2 separate regions of the Homo sapiens genome follow, and region 1 is linked to region 2. The links are contacts of gene promoters, found by promoter capture Hi-C in human tissues and cell types (Jung and others, 2019). All regions are on one chromosome and are shown on one strand. The core of a region is centred on a gene start or on the middle of the fragment in contact, and the rest is flanking DNA. Distances in the headings are between cores, read along the strand shown.

Region 1 (7,465 bases), core at 4,910-7,409, 480 kb after region 2:
TCACTGATGGTATTGTTTAGTTCAGTGCTAGTTTATATTTTTGTAACTTCAGTATCAATGCAACTCATCACTTTCAGATTTCTTAAGATAAGATATGACATCTAAAAACCCTGCCACTCTCTGCCATTGTTTTTTTCCTACTCATGTGCATGGATGATAAACTCCTGGGAACTCAACACATACTTTCCAAGTGGGTATTAGGGAGAAATAAGCAATTTAGCAAGCTCAGATTTACACGGCGACAGCACATTCAACTACCCCTCCTGCAACATTACCCAGAAATCTCCAAAAGTTGGTTCTATTTCAAATGAAAGGTATTTGAACTGTAATGAAATATGTCATATGTTCTTCTAAAATCTAATAGTCTTTATATTTTACTATATTCTTAGGCGTCTTTTTATTATAATTAAATAGAAGTGTGGCTGTAAGCAATTTCGTGTGATAGGAAAAACAATGTGCTTTTTCTAAACTCACCTGTCCTTCTGGTTTGTTTTTGTTTTCTTCCCCCTTTAAACACTTACAGATGTCTTCAATGAACGAGACAATTGTCCCTACGTCTACAACACTGACCAGAGGGACACGGATGGTGACGGTGTGGGGGATCACTGTGACAACTGCCCCCTGGTGCACAACCCTGACCAGGTGAGGGCAGCCGCAGACAGGCGGGGTTGGAGGTCCTCATCAGAGGGACGCGGGGACGGTGGCGGTGTGGGGGATCACTGTGACAACTGCCCCTGGTGCACAACCCTGACCAGATGAGGGCAGCCATGGGCAGGCGGGTCTCAGGTCCTCATCAGTCCCCTCCATGGGGCCTTGGGAGTTTTCCATGAGCTCCACAAAGACAGGATAACATGGAGTTTTCAATGATTTCAATTGAAAACATTTATTCAACTCAAATCTCAGCACTATTCTTGTATCTCAGTGGCCACAGGCCAAATGAATAGACGCCTTCACCTCATCAGCTGGAGCGAGGTTGTGTCTTCACAGAATTCTCTCCCCATTTTCCTGATGCCAACATAGGAATTGGCTTCATTTCCAGGTTTGCGTTTGAAAGAGACAAGGGAGGACAGTTATCTTGATGCAGCTCATAGGATATATTATCCTATGATGTAAATGGTGTAAATGGCGCAAATGGTGTAAAAAAGAGACATAATTACCTGGTAGTTCATGCTTTTCCAGCGAAGAAGCACATCTTCCTTTAGTGAAGTGAATTACTGTGGAGAGGTGGCAGAGGGTGGAGAGATTCCTGGACCGAGAGGCCTGGCCCCAGTGCTTGTCCTGACGTCAGGGTCAGTGTGACCTCGGGCCAGCCGCCCCTGCGTGGCCCTGGGGCTTGTGCTGCAGGACGAGGAGGCCGGCTCTCAGGCTTGCGTCCTGCTGGTTCCTCTCCACCTCCTCAAACTGGCAGTCCTCTGCTGTTTCTCTCACGCCCCATCCCCTAGACCGACGTGGACAATGACCTTGTTGGGGACCAGTGTGACAACAACGAGGACATAGATGACGACGGCCACCAGAACAACCAGGACAACTGCCCCTACATCTCCAACGCCAACCAGGCTGACCATGACAGAGACGGCCAGGGCGACGCCTGTGACCCTGATGATGACAACGATGGCGTCCCCGATGACAGGGACAACTGCCGGCTTGTGTTCAACCCAGACCAGGAGGACTTGGACGGTGGGTGCTCTCTCAGCTCATGGGCGTGGAGGAAAATGGCTTCTGAGCAACCCGCCAGGGCAGAGATATGTATGCACGGAGATCATCTTAAATCTGCTGCTGGAAAAAGGGCAATGACTTTGGGCCTCTTAAAGCTGTGGGTCCATGCAATATGAGTTTCTTCTCCCCTGACACTCAACACATTCTTGGCTGTGTGTGTGCCCTTCAACAGGTGTGCTGCCTCAAGTGTGTGTGCACGTCGGGAGGAGGAGAAATCCCTGCCTCCATATAACTTCCAGATTGTTGACGATCTCCTAGAAAGAATGCGGGTTACGAACGTAGGATGAATTGGGAATTTGGTGTATGGGGCCAGGCAGGGGACAAGGAGGATTTTTTTGAAAGCAAAGCCAACAAAAGTGGCACGAGTGTGAAGCATGAGAGGAAGAGCTGCTTTGCTCAGCAGTGAGCATGAATAGGTGGCCCATAGCCACGGGGGCCCAAGGAAGGAGCTGGATGGGCTGCAGTCCTCTAAGTCAGCGTCCCTGAGTAATAAACAAGGGCACAGCTGTGCTCTGGGGCTTCCGGGGAGGCTGTGAGAAAGTGGCCCTCACTTGGAGTGGGGCCTGGCTGACACAGGCTCTCTTTGGAAGCCACGTCCTTGACAGAGGGAGATAAGGACTTGAGGGGCATCTGAGACAGCATGACTCAGAAGTACGTGGGAGATGCTGGGATCAGAAGGGCAGCTCCTGTGTTCTCCCCGAGCAGCATGAAGGGATGGAGTGAGCACAGCAAGCCTCATCTGGACTCCGTGTTCGGGCATGCAGGGGCTTGCTCCCCATGCAGCCTTTCCCCAGGGAGGGACTGGGACAGAGAGAAGCTGATAGGCAGAGCAGCATTTCAGCATTTCAGAATGCCCTGATACCAACTATGTGCCTGCCACGTGGTAGCTGGAGTATGTTCTTGAACAGAACGGAAACTAGTTGAAGAATATGATGAGATATTCAATCCAACTTGCCTTTCCTCCAAAACGGCAGGCCACGTGATAGCTAATTCAGTACATTGCAATCTGCCTGTCAGGTTATCGTCATCGCCGTAGACTGATAGACTGGACACATGTGGCAAATTCGTGGTCCCCCTGTTTGCACCAGGCCCACCTCATCCCCACTCCCCACCATGCCACAACCCCGCTGAAAACTTGACAAGGACCCACTAAACAGCGGAAGTCCATGTCTCCCTAGGAAAAACCATTTTAGTGTGAGTTCCGCTTTAATGCCAAATAGACTATAAAAGGCAAGGATGACTAAGAAAAGTAATAACAGACATTCAGAAAACTATCCAAACACAAAGCTGGAAATGCAGGTTGATATTACTTGACAGCCATTCAGGTTTTATACCTGCAGCATTGAGTTTGGAACACGGTGAGAAATGGCTTTATGTGAATTTGCTGTGCTGGCCTTTGCTGTGTATTTATCACAAAAATTTTGTGAAAAGAGTTGAGGTTCCTGTGAAGTCAAATGTTTTGGAGATTGTTGAGCACGAATCCACAAAACACTGCAAAGCACTCAGTCTTAGATGTTCTGGGAAAGATGCACTCATGTTTCTCAGACACGGAAAAGCAAATGGCAAACCACCGACCACCGACTTTGCTTCTTTGTTTTTGTTTTTGTTTTTGCTTGTTCTTTGTGCATAGGTGATGGACGGGGTGATATTTGTAAAGATGATTTTGACAATGACAACATCCCAGATATTGATGATGTGTGTCCTGAAAACAATGCCATCAGTGAGACAGACTTCAGGAACTTCCAGATGGTCCCCTTGGATCCCAAAGGGACCACCCAAATTGATCCCAACTGGGTCATTCGCCATCAAGGCAAGGAGCTGGTTCAGACAGCCAACTCGGACCCCGGCATCGCTGTAGGTGAGTCTCTGAGACACGGCGGTGGTGCCAGCATTTCTCCGGGGGAGGCGCCCACAGAAGATGCAGACTGCACTTTAAGATCATGCAGGTGGGATGCCATGTGGTCTTTCTGGAAGCCCCCATCCTTCCATGGTCTGTGAAACTGTCTGCCTAAATAACCTTGACAGGTACATGCACCTGCCGCTCTGAAGTCTCTGAAATTTCAGTAAACCATTTTATTTTATAGACTTGGTCTATGAAATGGGACCTCATAATCCTCTCAGAACTCTTGTAAGTTGGATCTAAAAGAAATACCTTCAATTCCACTAATCTCATGGTAAAAGAGCCCATCGGGATGATGAGGGGAGCCCGCCCTGCCTGCTGGGCATCCACTGTCAGATGGTCACAGGGCCAAGCTGGGGATTGCCTGAAACCTGTTTCTTTTTTTTTTCTTTTTTTTCTTTTTTTTTTTTTGAGATGGAGTCTTGCTCTTGTCCCCCAGGCTGGAGTATAGTGGTACAATCTCAGTTCACTGCAACCTTTTTTCCCCGGTTCAAGTGATTCTCCTGCCTCAGCCTCCTGAGTAGCTGGGATTACAGGTACCCACCACCATGCCCGGCTAATTTTTGCATTTTTAGTAGAGACAAGGTTTCACCATATTGGTCAGACCAGTCTCGAACTCTTGACCTCAGGTGATCTGCCCACCTCGGCCTCTCAAAGTGCTGGGATTACAGGCATGAGTCACTACTCCCGGCCACCTGAAAGGTGTTTCTAACGAAACCTTATGGCGTTGCATCCAGGTTTTGACGAGTTTGGGTCTGTGGACTTCAGTGGCACATTCTACGTAAACACTGACCGGGACGACGACTATGCCGGCTTCGTCTTTGGTTACCAGTCAAGCAGCCGCTTCTATGTGGTGATGTGGAAGCAGGTGACGCAGACCTACTGGGAGGACCAGCCCACGCGGGCCTATGGCTACTCCGGCGTGTCCCTCAAGGTGGTGAACTCCACCACGGGGACGGGCGAGCACCTGAGGAACGCGCTGTGGCACACGGGGAACACGCCGGGGCAGGTGAGGTTGGCTGGCCAGGCCCACACATCTCCTCTGCACCACTGTGGCTGCAGAGTGTTTCAGCAGGACTAGCCCAGTCCAGAGACCCCACTTTTGTCTTTATTAATTTTAACTCCAGGCACAGTTATTTTAATAATCTTACTTTATTATAGACACTGTGCCTGGGGTTACAACTCAACACAGTTGATAATTACCAGTTAAATACAGTTGCTAATCCTTTTACAAATTAAACCTCTTTTACCCTCTTCTGGAGATAGGGAGTGAGCATAGGACATAATGATCAAAGATATAATATGAAAAAAATATTTTAAAAATTGAAGCTAGGGAGAATTGAATATCAAAACTTCAAGAATTTTGCCCAACATCCCATATCAAGGAAAGAGAAGATCCAGACATGAACCCAGGAATCTGAGGATCAGGTGCCTGGGCTCTTCAATCCAGGAATCTGAGGGTCAGGTGCCTTGGCTCTCAGCCCTGAGCCACACTCTGTCCATGGGCTTCAATCCACAGTAGAGATTTGGATGATAAACACATCAGAGAGATATGGAGCACCATGAGCCTTAAGCATGAACTTGCAAAGTCATGTTTTTGCTTCCTGCTTGGTGTTACAGAGCTGTGGTTAAGGCTCCGGGTGCCCATGGCACTCAAGAGTGCTATGTTCTCTCTCAGGTGCGAACCTTATGGCACGACCCCAGGAACATTGGCTGGAAGGACTACACGGCCTATAGGTGGCACCTGACTCACAGGCCCAAGACTGGCTACATCAGGTGAGGGCAGGTCAGCACAGCTGCATTTCTTCCAAGGGGCTTCCCATCGGACGGCACATTTGAACATTAATAGACAAATAAGCTCAAGTGAATTCTAACTTTTTGTTTTACTCTGGATTCTTCGTCATTAACTGCTTTCTCTTTTCTATCCTGCATCTCTACTAAATATTAAGTATTTTTAAAAAATGGTTGAAAAGGAGAATATACAATCTGCTTTGTTTTGGGATGATAACCATATTTTCTCCTAATGAATACCCCAGGCAGGGGAGAACACCTGCAATTAAAATAACTGCATCTTTGCAGAATTAGCATGTGCTTTATTGGAGACTAGATTTGTACCTGATATAAATGGCTGAATTTAAAACACGGTTGTATGAAGTTTTGACACAGTTAGCCCAACAGAATCTTTTCCCTTGGCTTAACAGTATTTATAATTGATTTTTATTCAAACAAAATGTGGTCAATTTAAAATCAAGGTGTTTTTGTTTTTTCAAAGTTAATAAGCACCAAGATCAGGCTGGACTCTGCACAGATGCCAGGAGTGTGTGAGTCCCTGGCAATAGAGGGCAGATCTGTGTGGGTGAAGTGCAGGCTCGTGGCCTCGCTGGAACGTTTCCCTAGGGGGCCTCCTGTTTATTCATATTGATGCCCCATCCTCCTGTCGGGGGCTTGGTGTATCCAGTCCTGCTCCCACGCAGCTTCCACAGTGGGGAGGAGAGCCGGTGAGCTCATGGTTTTAGCACAAGGTGAAGTAGGGAGAGTCCGGTGCATCTTCCCAGGAAGTGGGAAGCTTCCTCCTCACCCCACCAAAGGTAGAGTCTCCTCTAAAGCCCTTGCCTGGGTGACTGTAAGTGAACTCACAGATTGTGACAATAGTGTGGTTGCAAGAAGGAAGGCGTGCCCTGGATCAGTGCTGCACCAGGGGTGGCTGGAGCTCCAAAGGAGAAAGCCAGCAATGCCCCCTGGGGCACTGAAGCCCTGGGCGGAGTATCCACAGCTTGTGTCCGGAGCCAACCTTCCATCACTGGTGAATGCTTCACAGAGTTCATGTTGTCTTTCTTTCCTCTTCTTCTTTTTAAACACCATTTTTAGAGTCTTAGTGCATGAAGGAAAACAGGTCATGGCAGACTCAGGACCTATCTATGACCAAACCTACGCTGGCGGGCGGCTGGGTCTATTTGTCTTCTCTCAAGAAATGGTCTATTTCTCAGACCTCAAGTACGAATGCAGAGGTGAGTGTGAGCACTTCAGGTTAGTGGGGAAGGCATGTGGCACCCAGAAAGGGAAAGGGGTACACAGTGCGCTCTTCCACTTACAAAAGCTGTACATCAGGGCAATAAACCTAATGCACAATACCACACATGAGCCCCCTGCACATTCCAAGCAGCCATTTCATTTGGTCAGCTTGGATTGTTTTGTTTTTAATTGCATTTGGATGCCTCTGGTAGAACACTTTCCAATTATTTACAGGTCCCACCCATCCTCATTGTGCCATAGCCTAGAGTTTCCTAGATTTCCTCCACTTCCAGGCTCCTGACGCCATTTTAGATTGGTACCCTTGCATTAGCAATGGCAGGCAGGCAGGAAGGAAAGAAGGAAGGAAGGAGTTTCTCTATAGTTATCTCGCTACAGGTATATTTGAATCAAAATATTATAGACCTGGAAGATAACTTGAATTCCATCTGCTCTAATTCCATGCCTTCAAATGCGCATTACCCTTCCACAGATGCAGTAAATAAGGCTCAGGATGCTTCTCAAGAATCACACATTGAAAATCATGTGTTTGGCTGGGGGCAGTGGCTCATGCCTGTAATCCTAGCCCTTTGGGAGGCCAAGGCGGGTGGATCCCCTGAGGTCAGGAGTTCGAGACCAGCCTGGCCAACAGGGCAAAACCCTGTTGGGGTTGATTTATCTGCTTGCTTCTGTGGAGGTTTTCTTCTCCTTATGTTAGGATGTCTTTCAAGGCATCTCATTTCCTCCCATCCATCCATATCATTCATCCACCCACCCATATATCTCATCCATCCACCCATCCATCCATCCATTCATCCACCCATCTCATCCATTCACCCA
Region 2 (6,547 bases), core at 944-3,443:
ATAGTGCCCTTCTCACCACAAAATCCAGAGAGGAATATCATTAGTGATAGCTAAGGCAGAAGAGTTTAGATGGGCTTAAAATTCAGTCCTGTAAAGATAATTTTTCATTCTATATTAACAATTTTTTTCCTAGGTCGCTGGATTTGTGACTGTTGTCAGCGGGCCCCCCCAACACCCAGGAAAGTGGGCAGAAGGGGGAAAAACAGCAAAGAGGGATAAAATAGTTTTTGACTCTAATACTGTATATGCATTTAAGTGGAATATTTGGTGCCATTTACAACATTATTTTCATGCCAATAAAAGATTTTTTTTGCAAATTATGAGCTTAAAATCTGCAGTTATTTCTGTTAAAAGCTACGCTTACTCTCGAAACTAACTCCAGGTAGAGAATTCATCTTCCAAAGTATTTTATAGTAACCTTGGCTCACTCCAAAAATTCAGTGGAAATGTTTAGTAACTTAAGATACTTAACTGTTTCTCCATAGCCCCAAAAGTTAATTTTCATGAAACTTCCTAATCTACATTGTTTCCGGCCTACCATAGGTAGCACTGACAAAGTTATTTAATAACTGAAGAATTTTCATAGGTATGACAAATGGCCCACTAAGATTTGGTGCAGCTGGATTTAGAGTTGTCATTATTGGACTGGTACAGGAACAAACTTTGTAAATACCTGCCTGCCAGGAAATCCTTTTTGTATAGAAAAGTACCATCACCTACTTGGGGTACAGGCATGAGGCTTTAGTCCAGGCTCAGGGAAGTGTACGTAAATCATTTCCAACTTGATTTTAGTAACTCTTGAAAACTTACACCAACTTCGGTTAGAATCTCCAGAGTAAAATTACAAAGTTATCAACCTTTTGATTTGTGTCACAGCATGAAAGGTTGCTCTATTTTATATAAACCTGTTACTGCAATCATTTTTAGTCAACCTGCCTAATGAAAATGGAGTCTAAACACTTTGTGCACAGTCCTTTTATAGGAATTATGATCTTTAAAATACTGTGCTTGCTGCTTTTCCTATTTTTGGGGTAACTGAGGTAACAAAACTGCGTATGGCTTTATTTTTCCATCCCTTGACTAAAGGTACCTAGAACTTCAACCAAGTACAAGTAGCAAGGTTCACAGCAAACTGCAATCAGCTTCACAGATGGAGGGTTTTATATCCCAGAGTGTGGTCAACGACTCAAAAGAGAATTTCAAGTACCAGTTTCAAAATGCTAATTAATATCGTCCAGAGAACAGATTCCTCCTCTTGCGAGGCGTCTTCCGGGGCACCAGCGTGCTTCTGGCCGGCATCTGCGCCGTCGGCGGGGTAGGCGGCCTCGCCGAACGGGTGCTGCTCGACCGTGCCGTCGTAGTACACCTTCATCTCGAACTCGCTCTCCAGGTGGGAGGGGTGTCCATAGACGCCGATGCCCACTGGGCGCCGGAAGTGCGCGGGGATGGACACGGCGTCCGGGCCGCAGGTGGCCGATTGCAGCTCGTAGTCGTCGAAGCTGGGGTGCAGGCTGCTGGCGGAGACGTACAGATCCGCATCTCCCTTGAGGCTGCGCATCCTGAGGACTATCTTGCCCTCGTGGTTCAGCCGCAGGTAGCTGTAGTTCCCGGCGCCTATCTGGCCCTGGACGACGTGCAGGAGCACCCACTCCTCGGGGACCTCCTCCTCGTCCGCGCAGCTTCCCGGAGACAGGACCTGCGAGGCTAGGAGCAGCAGCAGGGCCGTCGTCCAGGGCGCGGCCCTCCCGCGGGGAGCGGCCATGGCTGGCGGCTCAGCTCCGGGGCCTGCAAGTGGGTCAGTGCTGCTGGGGACACCGGAGGCGCTCAGCACCGGAGCCTGTCCCCGCCGTCCGCACGCGGGTCCACGGCGCGTCCAGGCGCCTGGTCTGTCGCTGGGACTGTCCCTTCCCACCCGCGTGAGGCCCCGGGGAGGAGGGGTGGGTTAACCCCTCCCCCGTAGCGCGGCGCCCACTCAGGGCAGGGGCAGGGGCAGGGGCAGGGCCGCTGTGGCACCCTCGGACTCACCACCACTCCCCGCAGGGGGCCGCGCTTTATACATCCGGACCCGAGGCCGGAGCCTCGCCGGAGGCGGAAGTGACGCTAGGTCCGTAAGTGAGCCGGCCGGAAGCGAGGCTTCTCCAGCTGTCGCGAGATAGCGAAAGGGGCGTGGGCGCGAGGGGCGGCGGGCTAGTAACCATAGCGGCTCGCGTGGGTCGGCTGGCAAGTAACCATAGCGGCGAGCGTGGGGCGGAGTGTGGCTCGGTAGTCCTCTGCGTGCCCTCCTGGGAGCTGGGTGCTGTGAGTCCTCCCCTAGCGGGCTGGTCTCGGCGCGGAGTCGGCGCCGAACCCGAGCTGCTGCTCTGGGGCGTGTGCCTAGGGCGCAGGGCTGGAGCGCGGGGGCTGCGCGGTTGCTCGCGGCTCCGCTGAGGTCTCTAGGAAAGGGGGCGATTTGAGGGTTCCGCCGTGACCGCTTCCAACGGCGGACACGCGCGCTCTGGACCAGAGCCGTTGCCCGCTGTCTCGTCACCCGAAGCCTCCTCCTGACGCCGTGCTAGTGCGAGGGTCTCCAGGGGAATTCGGGGCACAAGTCGGGCCGGAGCATCCGGGCGGCCGCTTGAGATCGGCGCTTTGAGAACTGAGCGCATGTGGAGTTCGGAGGAAAAGGGCTCAGGTGGTTATTTTAATTAAAGCAGCTGTGTATAAGGAGCACTCAGATCTCTTTAAAAGATTCAGTAGTTTAGGAACGAACCAGGGCTGTAGAAATGCCCGGCCTCCTGCACCTCCCGTCGGTTCTGAGCTCCGAGGGCGGGAGCGTGGACCCTGAGGGCTCGTTAATTATGCCCCACTGGCCTTTCAACCTGCGTGGTAACTACCAGGCTAGGTTTTCCTAACTCGAGCCAAACAGCAAGTTTCTGACTTGATTATCACTAAAAGAGAAAAATTTCGATCTTTTCTAATCAGAAGGGAGTAATTTTCTCTTTTTAAAAATATTCGTATGTACATTAAAAAAACGGAAATGCACAGGATTTTATCAGTGGTACTCCTCGAGTAGTAGAGTTTTCATCTTTTTATGTATTTCTAAATTTTCTACAATTTACACACACTGCTCTGTACCAGTAAAGGAGTATTAACTCTACAGCTTCCAGTTTATCTGGGATTACTATCTTGTGTTTACTGACTTAACTTTAAGACTATGGTATCTTTAGCAATCACTTGTCACTGCCTTTTCCTGAAGTGCTTACCTAGTGTTAGGTGCACTAGAATCTCACTAAAATAATAAATTTAGTTTATTTTCCCTGACTTGTTCTGTGCATGTATGTACATGGATATTCCTGGGGATATCCTGTGACATTGATTATCCCCTAGGGTTGGCACAGCAGGGAGAGGAGGTAGGGATAAAAAACTTTATTATTTCTGCATTGTTTAAATGTTTTGTATTGTATTGCTTTTGTAATTCAAAAAAATGTTAAACAATTTATATTAGTGGAGGTAGGTTAAGTGCTGTAGCAATTCACCCCAATAGAACAGTTGCATGTTTCTTGCTCACACAGTCCTGTGTAGCGGTTTCTAGTCAGACGATTCCTTTGGGCAGCTCTCTGCAAGCTGCAGCCTAAAATTCTTCCATGTTGTGGTTTTTTTCCTTAGGCCCTCTGAATTCTCCGCATTTAGCCAGTGGGTGGGGAAAGAAGAGAGGCAGTGCAGGAGGAATTTATGGGCCAGGCACTCAACGACTACATGGCTGCACTTAATTGCAAGGGAAGCTAGGGAGTGTAGTTTAGTTCTGTGTCTAGAAGGAAAGGGAAGTGGCTTAGTGGAAAAGGAACAGCACTTACCGTAGTCTCTCTTCTGGTGACCAGATCTCTGCTCCACTCTTGATCCCACATGGAGAACACACTCTCCCCACCCCAAGGGGGACACTTTGTCAAGGTGCCTAGTGCAACACAGAACATTTCTCAGGATTGCACAGTTCTCTCCATCAGGCCTGGCTGTGGTTCCTCGTGGTCCAGAGCCCTATGGACTAAGAAGACAAACTAGTTGCTCTCCCCACTAAAATGCAGTGGTTAAATATGACCATGGTTTTTGTAACCATCTCCCTTTTGGAAAAGGGAGACACATGGCAGACACTGGTCTATAGCAGTTTTGAAGTGATGCTGGGGTGGAGGTGGGAGGAATTTCCCAACTAGACCCTGATTCTGCTATCTGGGAGGAATTCCCTTGTCCATTGTTCTTTTTCTTTCCTTTGAGACAGGATGTCACTGTTGTCCAGGTTGAAGTAGAGTGGCACAATCACAGCTCACTATAGCTTCAACCTCCGTGGCTCAAACGATCCTCCCACCTCAGCCTCCCCAGCAGCTGGGGCTACAAGCATGCACTGCCACACCTGACTACTTTTTTTTTTTAAAGTAGAGACAGGGTCTCACTATGTTGCCCAGGCTGGTCTTGAACTCCTGGGCTCAAGTGATCCTTCTGCCTCGGCCCCACAAAGTGCTGGGATTGCAGATGTGAGCCACTGTGCCTGGCTTGTTTGCTGAGGCCCTTGATTCTACCCTTAGTCCTTTTCCTCCACGGTCTCATCTGATGTGGCTATGAGGATGCTGTCTTGGAAGGCTGCCATAGCTCACTCCTGGAGCATGGCAGTGGGGACCAGGCAGTCAGCCCTGAGCCCACCGTGTGCCCTTACTCTGTTCTTTGCTTGATACTTCTTAGGCTTCATCGTGTCCTCACGAGCACAGCAGCTTCTGGTCTGTGTGTATCTCGTCAGCTCTGTGTGCTGGTGATGCCATTGTCGTTCTTCCTGTGTCTACTGTTCAAGCCTGACTTTATTTTCTTTTGGTCTCCTGGGCAGCTGATACCCTGAGGTTATGTGGAACAAAGGCTTGAGTGGGAAGGTAGCCATCCTAGGTCAGATCTTTGCTGAAGGGCCAAGACCTGATGGTCCTTTGTCCCTCCCTGCAGCCTCTCAGGGCACTCAGGTTTCCCAGTGCTGCAGCCCCTGCTCTTCGTACTTTCTTTTCGTGTCCATTCCGCTTGCACACCAGCCAGTTCTCTAGTCCAATTCCGTGTGTTGGCTGCTAATGCGTATTCTTTGCAATAATTTCCTGTAGGGCTGCAGGAGAGTAAGCCTGTGGTAAGTTTTCTGCGTTATTACAGGTTGTTGCAGTTGAACCTGTTTGTCACTGCCTAACGTGAGTCTTGAGCTTTTCCCCTCCTGAATTTGTTTCTGTGCCCCATCACTCAGTCACTCAGCAACATCCTACAGTGTCACTGAAGCATCCTGCTTCAAGGTACCCACATCAGTCAAGGTAGGCTGACAGAAGTGACCTCAGCTTCATGCACTAAATGTTTCTCTCTTGCTTACACAACAGTCCAGCCTGGTGTCCTGATCACCCTTTAGTGGGAGCAGCACAGGCTGCCAGGTGCCACCACCGTGGCCCCTCTCCTCAGCCTTTGGAGCCCTCCGCCTCCAGCATGAAGGGCTGTGCACGGGCTGTGACAGGACCAAGCCTGTGCATGCATGGTGTGCTTTCCAGACCAGAAATTGGTGCACGGCTGCCCTCGACTTCAGAGGCTGGAAATGTGGTCCAGCCATGTTCTTAGTGGCTCCAGGGAAGAAGCAGAAAGAGCTTGGGGAAAACTGCCAGACCACAGAAATAGAAAAATGAATATTTTAACATATAGAAAAATAACTTTTTACACAAATGATTTTAGGGGCCATCTGACCTCTGTTCAATGGGAGGATAGGTTGCACTTCAGTTAGCTGCCCTGGACTCATGTTCTCGACGTGGACACGTGTGTGTATGTGTGTGTGTGTGTCGGTGTGTCCCTGACGATGTTTCTGCCTGCACCAGACCCTCCCTCATCCCTGTCTGTACCACCCTGCCATGGAGCAGGAGAGGCAGGAGAGGTAGGCATTAAAGCCGAGTACACTGAGGCAGAGGTAGGCATTGAAGCCGAATACACTGAGGCAGAGGTAGGCATTGAAGCTGAGAACACTGAGGAACAGAGGTGTTGGGCAGCTGGAGAGGTGGGACATCAGCTCGTGCACACTGGGGCCAGACTGACCCAGAAATTCTGAGTGCAGGCTGGTGCTTCCTCGTCAAGGTGGCTTATGTGTCCTGACAAGGCTTCCTTCCCTCCTTGGCTTCACACCATTGTTTCTGTGAACTCTTCATACTAGTGAGTCATGGTGTTATTTCTTTACTATGCACTCATCAGGAAATGCAAGCACATTCATATTCTGCCTGTAGGGACCAGCCCGCAGGGTCAGTGGGTCTCTCCCCGTGCGCGGGGACGAGTGTAGAAATAAAGACACAAGACAAAGAGATAAAAGACAGCTGGGCCCGGGGGACCACTACCACCAAGTCACGGAGACCGGTAGTGGCCCCAAATGCCAGGCTGCACTGATATTTATTGGATACAAGACAAAGGGGCAGGATAAGGAGAGTGGCCATAGGTAAGGCCATGTGGGTCACGTGTCCACTGGACAGGGGGCCCTTCCCTGCCTGGCAGCCAAGGCAGAGAGAGGAGACAGAGAGAAACAACTTAC

Evidence for each region. Contacts are between HindIII fragments. The study calls those that stand out against the background at their distance.
Region 1: a contact is called between a fragment that was not itself captured here and the fragment with the promoter of WDR27 in region 2, in 1 of the 25 tissues and cell types used here (spleen).

What each region holds. Positions count from the first base shown.
Region 1 is chr6:169,219,357-169,226,821 of GRCh38, reverse strand. It overlaps THBS2 (thrombospondin 2), which reads left to right. Exons shown (of 22, transcript NM_003247.5): 16 at 524-642; 17 at 1,443-1,677; 18 at 3,347-3,574; 19 at 4,354-4,625; 20 at 5,295-5,392; 21 at 6,485-6,624. All of the region lies in intron 2 of THBS2-AS1 (THBS2 antisense RNA 1), which reads right to left. LOC124901470 (a long non-coding RNA gene) reads right to left here and starts at 1,471. Exons shown (of 2, transcript XR_007059889.1): 1 at 1,158-1,471; 2 at 868-1,027. RefSeq lists an enhancer at 1,590-2,789. The HindIII fragment of the contact is 9,382 bases long and covers 1,469-7,465 here.
Region 2 is chr6:169,697,675-169,704,221 of GRCh38, reverse strand. WDR27 (WD repeat domain 27) reads left to right here and starts at 2,193. Exons shown (of 26, transcript NM_182552.5): 1 at 2,193-2,671. C6orf120 (chromosome 6 open reading frame 120) reads right to left here and starts at 2,096. Exons shown (of 1, transcript NM_001029863.3): 1 at 1-2,096. The coding sequence starts at 1,762. The coding sequence ends at 1,187. PHF10 (PHD finger protein 10) reads left to right here. Exons shown (of 12, transcript NM_018288.4): 12 at 134-320. The coding sequence ends at 219. RefSeq lists a silencer at 1,730-2,099 and enhancers at 2,150-2,239, 2,560-2,639. The HindIII fragment of the contact is 14,983 bases long and covers 1-6,547 here.